Regions from separate parts of the Homo sapiens genome. Here all the other regions are linked to region 3. Evidence: promoter capture Hi-C in 16 types of primary human blood cells and fetal thymus (Javierre and others, 2016). All regions are on one chromosome and are shown on one strand. The core of a region is centred on a gene start or on the middle of the fragment in contact, and the rest is flanking DNA. Distances in the headings are between cores, read along the strand shown.

Region 1 (2,700 bases), core at 73-2,572, 570 kb before region 3:
TGCTCAAAGGAACAGTAAGAAATGAGCTTCTGGCTGGGCGTGATGGCTCATGCCTGTAATCCCAGCACTTTGGGAGGCTGAGGCAGGTGGATCACCTGAGGTTAGGAGTTTGAGACTAGCCTGACCAACATGGAGAAACCCCGTCTCTACTAAAAATACAAAAAAATCAGCCGGGTGTGGTGGTGCATGCCTGTAATCTCAGCTACTTGGGAGGCTGGGGCAGGAGAATCGCTTGAACCCAGGGGGCAGAGGTTGTTGTGAGCTGAGATCGTGCCATTGCACTCCAGCCTGGGCAACAAAAGTGAAACTCCGTCTCAAAAAAAAAAAAAAAAAGAACTTTTATTTTGTGAGCTACTGAAATGGTGGGGTTTATTTGTTATAGCAGCTAGCATGACTCTAAATAATATACCTTGTAGACATCATTGCCCACTAGCTCAGTGTATCTCAAACTACTTGTAACTATGGAGAAGGATCATTTGTTTGATGTTTCCAACCTGTCATGGACCAATCCTTTTGGTCTCTACCCTGTTCAACAAGAAAATCCATTGATCCTATACTTGGATGTCATGGATATGTCAAATTGCTGTGTTTCTAAACACTTGCTGGCAATTTCCGTACTTATCTGGTGGCACACCATTGCAGACACCAGCTCGGTTGGGGAGACCCTAACCCACTGGTGCTAGAGGAATTAAACACACACACACAGAAATATAGAGGTGTGAAGTGGGAAATCAGGGGTCTCACAGCCTTCAGAGCTGAGAGCCCCGAACAGAGATTTACCCACATATTTAGTAACAGCAAACCAGTCATTAGCATTGTTTCTATAGATATTAAATTAAAAGTATCCCTTATGGGAAACGAAGGGATGGGCCGAATTAAAGGAATAGGTTGGGCTAGTTAACTGCAGCAGGAACACGTCCTTAAGACACACATCGCTCATGCTATTGTTTGTGGCTTAAGAATGCCTTTAAGTGGTTTTCCACTCTGGGCGGGCCAGGTGTTCCTTGCCCTCATTCCCGTAAACCCACAACCTTCCAGCTTGGGCGTTAGGGCCATTATGAACATGTCACAGTGCTGTGGAGATTTTGTTTGTGGCCAGTCTTGGGGTCAGTTTATGGCCATATTTTGGGGGGCTTGCTCCCAACACCATAATAGTTGCTGGACCAGTCCTGGCACCACTTTAGCTTCTTATTCTGTTTTATTTTTCTCTATAGCATTTACCATTCCCTGTAATTATCTTGTTTATTTTTGGGTATACTTGTTTATAGTTTTCTTTCCCACTAGAATGTAAGCTCCATCAGAGAAGAAGTTGGCCTTACTTCTCTTGCTCCGTTGTGTTCCTCGTTCCCAAGACAATGCCTGGGACACAGTAGGTGCTCAGAAAGTATTTGTTAAATAATGAGTATTTGTTAAATAAAAATCATGGCTGGGAACAGTGGCTCACGCCTATAATCCCAGCACTTTGGGAGGCCAAGGCAGACAGATTGGTTGAGCTCAGGAGTTTGAGACCAGTCTGGGCAGCATGGCAAAACCCTGTCTCTACAAAAAATATAAAAATTTGCTGGGCATGGTGGCATGCACCTGTAGTCCTAGCTACTCAGGAGGCTGAGGCATGAGAATCACTTGAACCTGGGAGCCAGAAGTTGCAGTGAGCTGAGATTGTGCCACTGCATTCCAGTCTGGGTGACATAGTGTGACCCTGTCTCAAAAAAAAATTTAATAAAATGAAATAAAAATAACAAGGAGGGTGGGGGGAAGGAGGCAATCCATATCTGTTACAGAGGCTCTCTACAATCAGAACCTGACCAGAACTCTAACCAGTTTGTTAACAGCCATTGAGATCCCCTCAAGAGCTGTGGTTTTTTGATAGACCATGGTAGCTCAGATTAGATGTCAACTGAAGAATCATGAGGTTTTGATATGGTTTGGCTGTCCCCACCCAAATCTCATCTTGAATTGTAGTTCCCCAAATCCCCATGTGTTGTGGGAGGGACCTAGTGGGAGGTAATCGAATCATGGGGGTGGTTACCCCCATGCTGCTGTTCTTGAGATAGTGAGTTCTCACGAGATCTGATGGTTTTATAAGGGGCTTTTCCCTCTTTGCTTGGCACTTCTCCTTCCTGCTGCCATCTGAGGAAGGACGTTTTTGCTTTCTTTTCCACCATGATTTTAAGTTCCCTGAGGCCTCCCCAACCCTGCGGAACTGTGAGTCAATTAAACCTCTTTCCTTTATAAATTACCCAGTCTTGGGCAGTTCTTTTCAGCAGCGTGAGAACAGACTAATACAGGTTTACAAATTTGGAAAGGAGAGCTTTATTTCTCATAAAGAGTTGCAGCCTGCAGCCGGGCCATCTCACAGGCCGAGAAGTGTAGCCTCCGGTAGAAGCTGAGAGCAGGCACCTCCAGTAAGGGAAGGATAAGGTCAGAGTTAACGCTGAATGGCTTGGCTCAGTATACATATTCAACAGGTTATAGGAGGAGCTATGAATATTCATGAAGGGAAGGTACAGCACATGTGTAGTAACATCCCATATTCACTTTTTTTTTTTTTTTTTTTTTTTTTTGAGATGGAGTCTTACTCTGTCACCCAGGCTGTAGTGTAGTGGTGCGATCTCAGCTCACTGCAACCTCTCTTTCCCAGGGTTCAAGCAATTCTCCTGCCTCAGCCTCATGAGTAGCTGGGATTACAGGCACCCATCA
Region 2 (2,700 bases), core at 90-2,589, 510 kb before region 3:
CACCCTTGACTTTCCCTGTACCAGTCCTGACCCCTGTCTGTCCTCACTTTCTACCTTGACCCCAGTCCTCACCTGGACTTTTATCCGTATCCTGACCTCTAACCTCTCCCAATTTTTGTCCTGACGCCTTAAACTTCGCTGCCTCTACCCTAGAAAGCAGATCTGTGGTCCAATTCTGGGCCTTTTACTTGCTGTGTGACCTCTGGCAAGAAATGTCCCCTCTCTGAGCCTCAGTTTCCTCATCTGTAAGATGAGAATGGGCCTCACAGGGTGGTTGTGAGGGTAGATTCAGATAATGTGAGTGAAGGGGTCAGCACAAGGTCAGGCATCCATAGGTGTTTGGTGCAAGGGGCCTGGTTATTTTACCCATTTCCTGGCCCTGCTAAGAAAGGGTGTGCCCAGGGCTCTTCCCTGACTTCCCCGTTTCCGGTCAGGCTTCTGCCAGCTCTACCTGAATGAGAAGGACTACCCGCCTGGCTATGCCTTCGACGTAGAGGCCATGAACTTTCCATCTAGCGGCCTCTGCTTTGCGGGACTTGTATCCATGATTGACCCACCCCGGGCCACCGTCCCTGATGCTGTGCTCAAGTGTCGCACCGCAGGCATCCGGGTATGCCACTGTGGGGAGGAACAAGTGGAGTGAGGACAGAGGATGGCAGCAGGATTTGGGTTGAAGAACCCCATGACAAACCCACCTGAAACTGGCTTGAACCAAAATGCATTGGTTTATGATACTGAAAAATTCTGGGGAATTAAGCTTCAGGTCTAGCCAGATCCAGGAGCTCAGTGTCATTAGGAATTTTCCTTTCTCCATGTCTCAGCTCTGCTGTTCTCTTTGCTGGCTTTATTTGCAGGCACTCCCTTCACTTGGGGACACACACACCCCTGCTCCAGCAGCTCAAACTTAACTCCCACCTGCTTAGCCACCCCACAAAAAGAGAGTGCCTCTTTTGCAGTAGCACTGGATTGGGTCACTCATTTATCCCTGAGCCAGTCACTGGGGCTGGGGGATGGAAGACCTTGATTGGCCAGGTCTGGGCTTACTTACCCAATCTTAGCCAGGGACCTCACTGCAACTGATGGTGTAGGGGAGAGGAGTGGTTCCCCAAACACAAAACAAGGGTGGGAAAGCCAAGGCCAGGCAGGCAATGCCCAAGCCCTTCCCGTGTCTCTACGGCCCTGTTACATCGGGCCTTGTTACCTTTCTAAGCTTGTTCGTTAGCCCTCTTTCCTTGTTCACTCCTCTGCAGTTATGGTGTCCTCCCTGCTGTTCCTCCGACAGTTCGGGCCTGTCCTCACCTCAGGGCCTTTGCACCTGCTGTTCTCCCTGCCAGGAGCACTCTTCTCCCAGCTTTCCACGTGGCTGACTCTCTCACCTCTTACAGGTCTCTGCTCAGATATCACCTTCTCAATAAGCCCTTCCCTGGGTACACTTAAAATCGAGTCACCGTTTCCTTCACCAAGCTTAATATGTTTTTTTCCACTTTCTAACACACTATATAATTCGTTTCTTTATTTTCTGTCACCCTCACTAGAGCTCCTCAAGGACAGGGATTTTTGTCTCTTTTGTCTCTGCTATATCCCAGGCACGTAGGAGGTGGTCACGCTTGGTCAAGTAAATGAACACGTGTATCAGCAGATGTCTCCCAGGGAGGACAGGGAGATTGGGCTGATCTGAAGGGGTCAGTGATCCACTGGTTCCCCCTACAGGTGATCATGGTAACGGGTGACCACCCCATCACCGCCAAGGCCATTGCAGCCAGTGTGGGCATCATCTCGGAAGGCAGCGAGACAGTGGAGGACATCGCTGCCCGCCTCCGTGTGCCCGTAGACCAGGTTAATCGCAAGTAAGCCCCCCCAGACCTCCCCGGGGTTCTCCCCACATCTGGCACAGACCGAGGTCCCAGCGAGGTCCTCCCATCTCCTCCCCAGGGATGCCCGTGCCTGTGTGATCAATGGCATGCAGCTGAAGGACATGGACCCATCGGAACTGGTCGAGGCCCTGCGCACCCACCCCGAGATGGTGTTTGCGCGCACCAGCCCCCAGCAGAAGCTGGTGATCGTGGAGAGCTGCCAGCGGCTGGTGAGCCCTGCTGATGAGGGTGGGCAGGCGGGCAGACAGGCGGGGCTGGTCTTGGACCGGCCTCTCACTGACCACCCACCCACCACCTGCACCCACTGCCTGCAGGGTGCGATTGTGGCCGTCACGGGGGATGGTGTGAATGACTCCCCAGCTCTGAAGAAGGCAGACATCGGAGTAGCCATGGGCATCGCTGGCTCAGATGCTGCCAAAAATGCAGCTGACATGATCCTGCTGGATGACAACTTTGCCTCCATTGTGACAGGCGTGGAGCAGGGTCCGAGCCACGCCAGGGGGAGGGCAGGCAGTGTGGGCACAGGAGGGAGAGGGCTGTGAGGAGGCTGAGGTGCCCACCCTACCCCACAGGTCGACTGATCTTCGACAACCTGAAGAAGTCTATTGCCTACACATTGACCAAGAACATCCCAGAGCTGACACCCTACCTCATCTACATCACCGTCAGCGTGCCCCTGCCCCTCGGGTGCATCACCATCCTCTTCATCGAACTCTGCACTGACATTGTAAGTCCACAGCCCAGGGTACCCATCCACAGGGTGCCCAGAGACACTTGCTTGCAGATGGACAGGAGGGACAGAGACCACCACAGACACTCTTGGGCA
Region 3 (2,700 bases), core at 201-2,700:
CTGCTCTTTTGCCCACAGAGCCAGGAGGTGGAGGAATGTCTGGGATCGGTGGGGGTCCTGGGTCTCTGGGACTCCGAGTTTGCCAACCTCTGTCATGACAGCTCTGCTTGATGGCATGCGTCTTATATGCAGAGCCCCAGACCAGTGCCTGGTGTGTGTCATGCACTCAGCAACCTCACAGAGGGAGGACTGGTATCCATGCTTGACCCAGAGGGAGACCAAAGCCCTAAGAATAATGTCACTTGCACCAGATCACACAGCAAAAAAGATGGCAAGAGCAAATTCAAATGCAAGCCTGTGTGTTTCACTCCAAATCTGTGTCCTTAACCATGACAGCTACAGCTTCCCCGCCTCAGCCCCAGCAGAGGACAAGTCCAGAGTTAGCTGAGAAATCACTGGGGGATGAGGGGAAACTGAGGCAGCACGCCAGGAAGGTCACATAGGGTAGAAGGGAGGCTGGTGGTGGCACAGCTGCACAGAAAATGTGGTTAATAGTTAATCAGGTGGAGGAGGACTAACAGGGGTGGGGATGCATCTGGGAGGGGTGCCCAGAGAGAGGGGGCTCCGAAGAGTAGAGGGTAGAGAAAAGAGCACAGAGGGCGGGGCGCCAGGCAGAGCCAAAGCTGGGGCTCAGGGAAGGGGACTCACCCTCCTTCTGCGCCATGTCACTGCCTCTTGTTAATGATTCCCTGGCTGACCTCCTGGGCCAGGGTGGGACCTGTGAGGAGATGGACGGGGAGGCAGGGCCTGGGGGAGCCCAGCCCAGCCCAGTCCTGGCGCCCCCAGTCCCAGGCGTCCATCCAGGCAGGCTGTAGGGACTGGGCCTTGGCCAGAGCACGCCGTGATCACGGACGCAGATTGGGCTGGGTTCAAGGATGGGGTCAGTGTCTGACCAGCAGCGGGGGGACGCCTGGATTTGCAGGGATGGGGACCCCCATGCCTGAGCCTGGTGGAGCAGGGGACTGAGGATCCCGGTTTGAGGGAGGAGACAGCTGAGGACCTGAAATCATAAGTCTTGGGAAAGGAGGAATTTGGGGGCCAGGACTCCCTAGTATGAGGGAGGAGGGGCCTGAGGGCTGGAACTCCTGGGTCTGGGGAGGAAAGGACTGGGGTCCAACGGCTGAGTCTGAAGGAAGAGCAGGACAGAACACCTAGGTGCTTGGGGGGACGTCATAGTGCCCCCTCTTCAGGTCCCCAGGAACCCCTCTATTAGGAGGTGGGCATTAGGCTGGGTGGGGGGATGAGGGAACCCCTGTCCTCAGGGCTGGAACTGTGAGTCTGGGGGCCCTTGTCCTTACCCTGGGGTCCAGCAGGTGGGGGCGGAGCCTCGAGGTAGTGCCGGGGTCGGGTCAGTCTCCAGGCCTGGGCAGGAGCATGGTGGCCCCGCAGCAGCGGGCGGCCTGGAGGCAGAGGCGGTGGCGTGGGGCCTGCTAGGCCAGGCTGCCTCACCTGAGGAGGAGGGGGCTGGGCGAGGGGCGGGTGAAGGGGCGGGGAGGGGCCGGACCATTCGATTGGCAGCACTGGAGGCCACCTGGCTGATGGGGCCGGGCTTGTGGGGGCTGGACCAGGCGGGCCCAGCTACGGGGCTTGCCTTGGACCTCCAGGGGGACCCAGGTGTGCCTGTCTGCGGGGATGTGGGAACAGGGACAGGCCTGGCCGGAGGCTGGGGGTTTAGGGAGAAAGTGCAGGCTGAAGGGTGGGGGTCTGACCAGAAGAGATCAGATGGAGGGCCCCAGCTGCCCTAAGCCCACTCCACCCTCACCCAGCGAACCCTTCCCCCCGCCCTTTCTGCGTCCTCCAGCCCCAGGTCCTGGCTGTGCCCGCCACTTGCTGCACCTCTGCCTAATTCCCTGCCCAATTCCTGGGCCCCAACCCCAGCCCCAGCCTCTCCCGCCTGCCCTGCTCATCCTGCCCCGGCCCCTCCCCCGCTGGCTTCCTACAAGTCACGGGGCTGGTTTGCTTTGGCAGCCTCCGCCCGGCCGCGGTGACCTCTGGAGCCAGAAAGTCCTAGCACTAGATAGGGGGGATGGGGGGCTTGGCCGGGAAAACACAGCGCTAAGGGCAGAGGCCCAGGCCAAGTGGCCGGAAGCGTCCGCAGGCAGATAACACACTGTCCCGCCAGCAGCCAGGCGCGGCCCACGTCAGACCCAGGGCCAGGTAAACACCAGACGTGCAGGGTCACCGCCAGACACCTGCCCGTGCTCAACCACACGCCGGACACAGTCGGCCTCGGCTGCTTGCCCCAGATAGGCCACCCGCACAACCGGCCCCACCCGCTTACCCACACGTGCCCGCTGTGCCCAGCCAAACCCACCTCCACCGCACCCATTTCCTCCACTCAGCCCAGGGCCCCTCATTGGGACACGCTGGTTTAGCCTGGCTTCCTCTGCCTTTCCATCCATACCCGTCTCTCCTTCCCTCTCCTTCTCCCCAGCGCCCACCTCTCCAGAGACTCACACTGCTGGGCACACCACACACCCCATGCCACCCCTGCACCCCAGCATCAGCCTCGATTCTCTTCCCTCCACGGCACCCCCTCCCTTCCTGGCTCCGTTCCACTCTCCCTCACCCCTGAGCCCATGGCTCCCCCAACCCCGACACAGATCAGGCACTAAGTGGCTTCACCTGTGGGCCCTCAGGTAGGGTCCCTGGAAAGCGGGCTCGAAGATTCGGGGACGGGAATGGGGGGAAGGTGACGGG

What was found. The method cuts DNA at HindIII sites, captures the fragments that hold promoters and counts their contacts. A CHiCAGO score of 5 or more calls a contact.
Region 1: a contact is called between a fragment that was not itself captured here and the fragment with the promoter of HPN in region 3, in 5 of 17 cell types (total B cells, activated CD4 T cells, naive B cells and 2 more). The highest score is 7.8, in total B cells.
Region 2: a contact is called between a fragment that was not itself captured here and the fragment with the promoter of HPN in region 3, in 2 of 17 cell types (naive B cells and naive CD8 T cells). The highest score is 7.8, in naive B cells.

The regions. Positions count from the first base shown.
Region 1 is chr19:35,605,563-35,608,262 of GRCh38, reverse strand. No RefSeq gene overlaps it. Among named protein-coding and RNA genes, the nearest start is that of HAUS5-DT, 5.8 kb to the left of the region's middle. The HindIII fragment of the contact is 3,634 bases long and covers 1-2,700 here.
Region 2 is chr19:35,554,823-35,557,522 of GRCh38, reverse strand. It overlaps ATP4A (ATPase H+/K+ transporting subunit alpha), which reads left to right. Exons shown (of 22, transcript NM_000704.3): 12 at 435-610; 13 at 1,711-1,847; 14 at 1,933-2,083; 15 at 2,189-2,357; 16 at 2,447-2,601. Among named protein-coding and RNA genes, the nearest start is that of ATP4A, 7.5 kb to the left of the region's middle. The HindIII fragment of the contact is 254 bases long and covers 1,213-1,466 here.
Region 3 is chr19:35,040,471-35,043,170 of GRCh38, reverse strand. HPN (hepsin) reads right to left here and starts at 1,450. Exons shown (of 13, transcript NM_001384133.1): 1 at 1,299-1,450; 2 at 649-718. The coding sequence starts at 664. RefSeq lists an enhancer at 1,979-2,700. The HindIII fragment of the contact is 15,827 bases long and covers 1-2,700 here.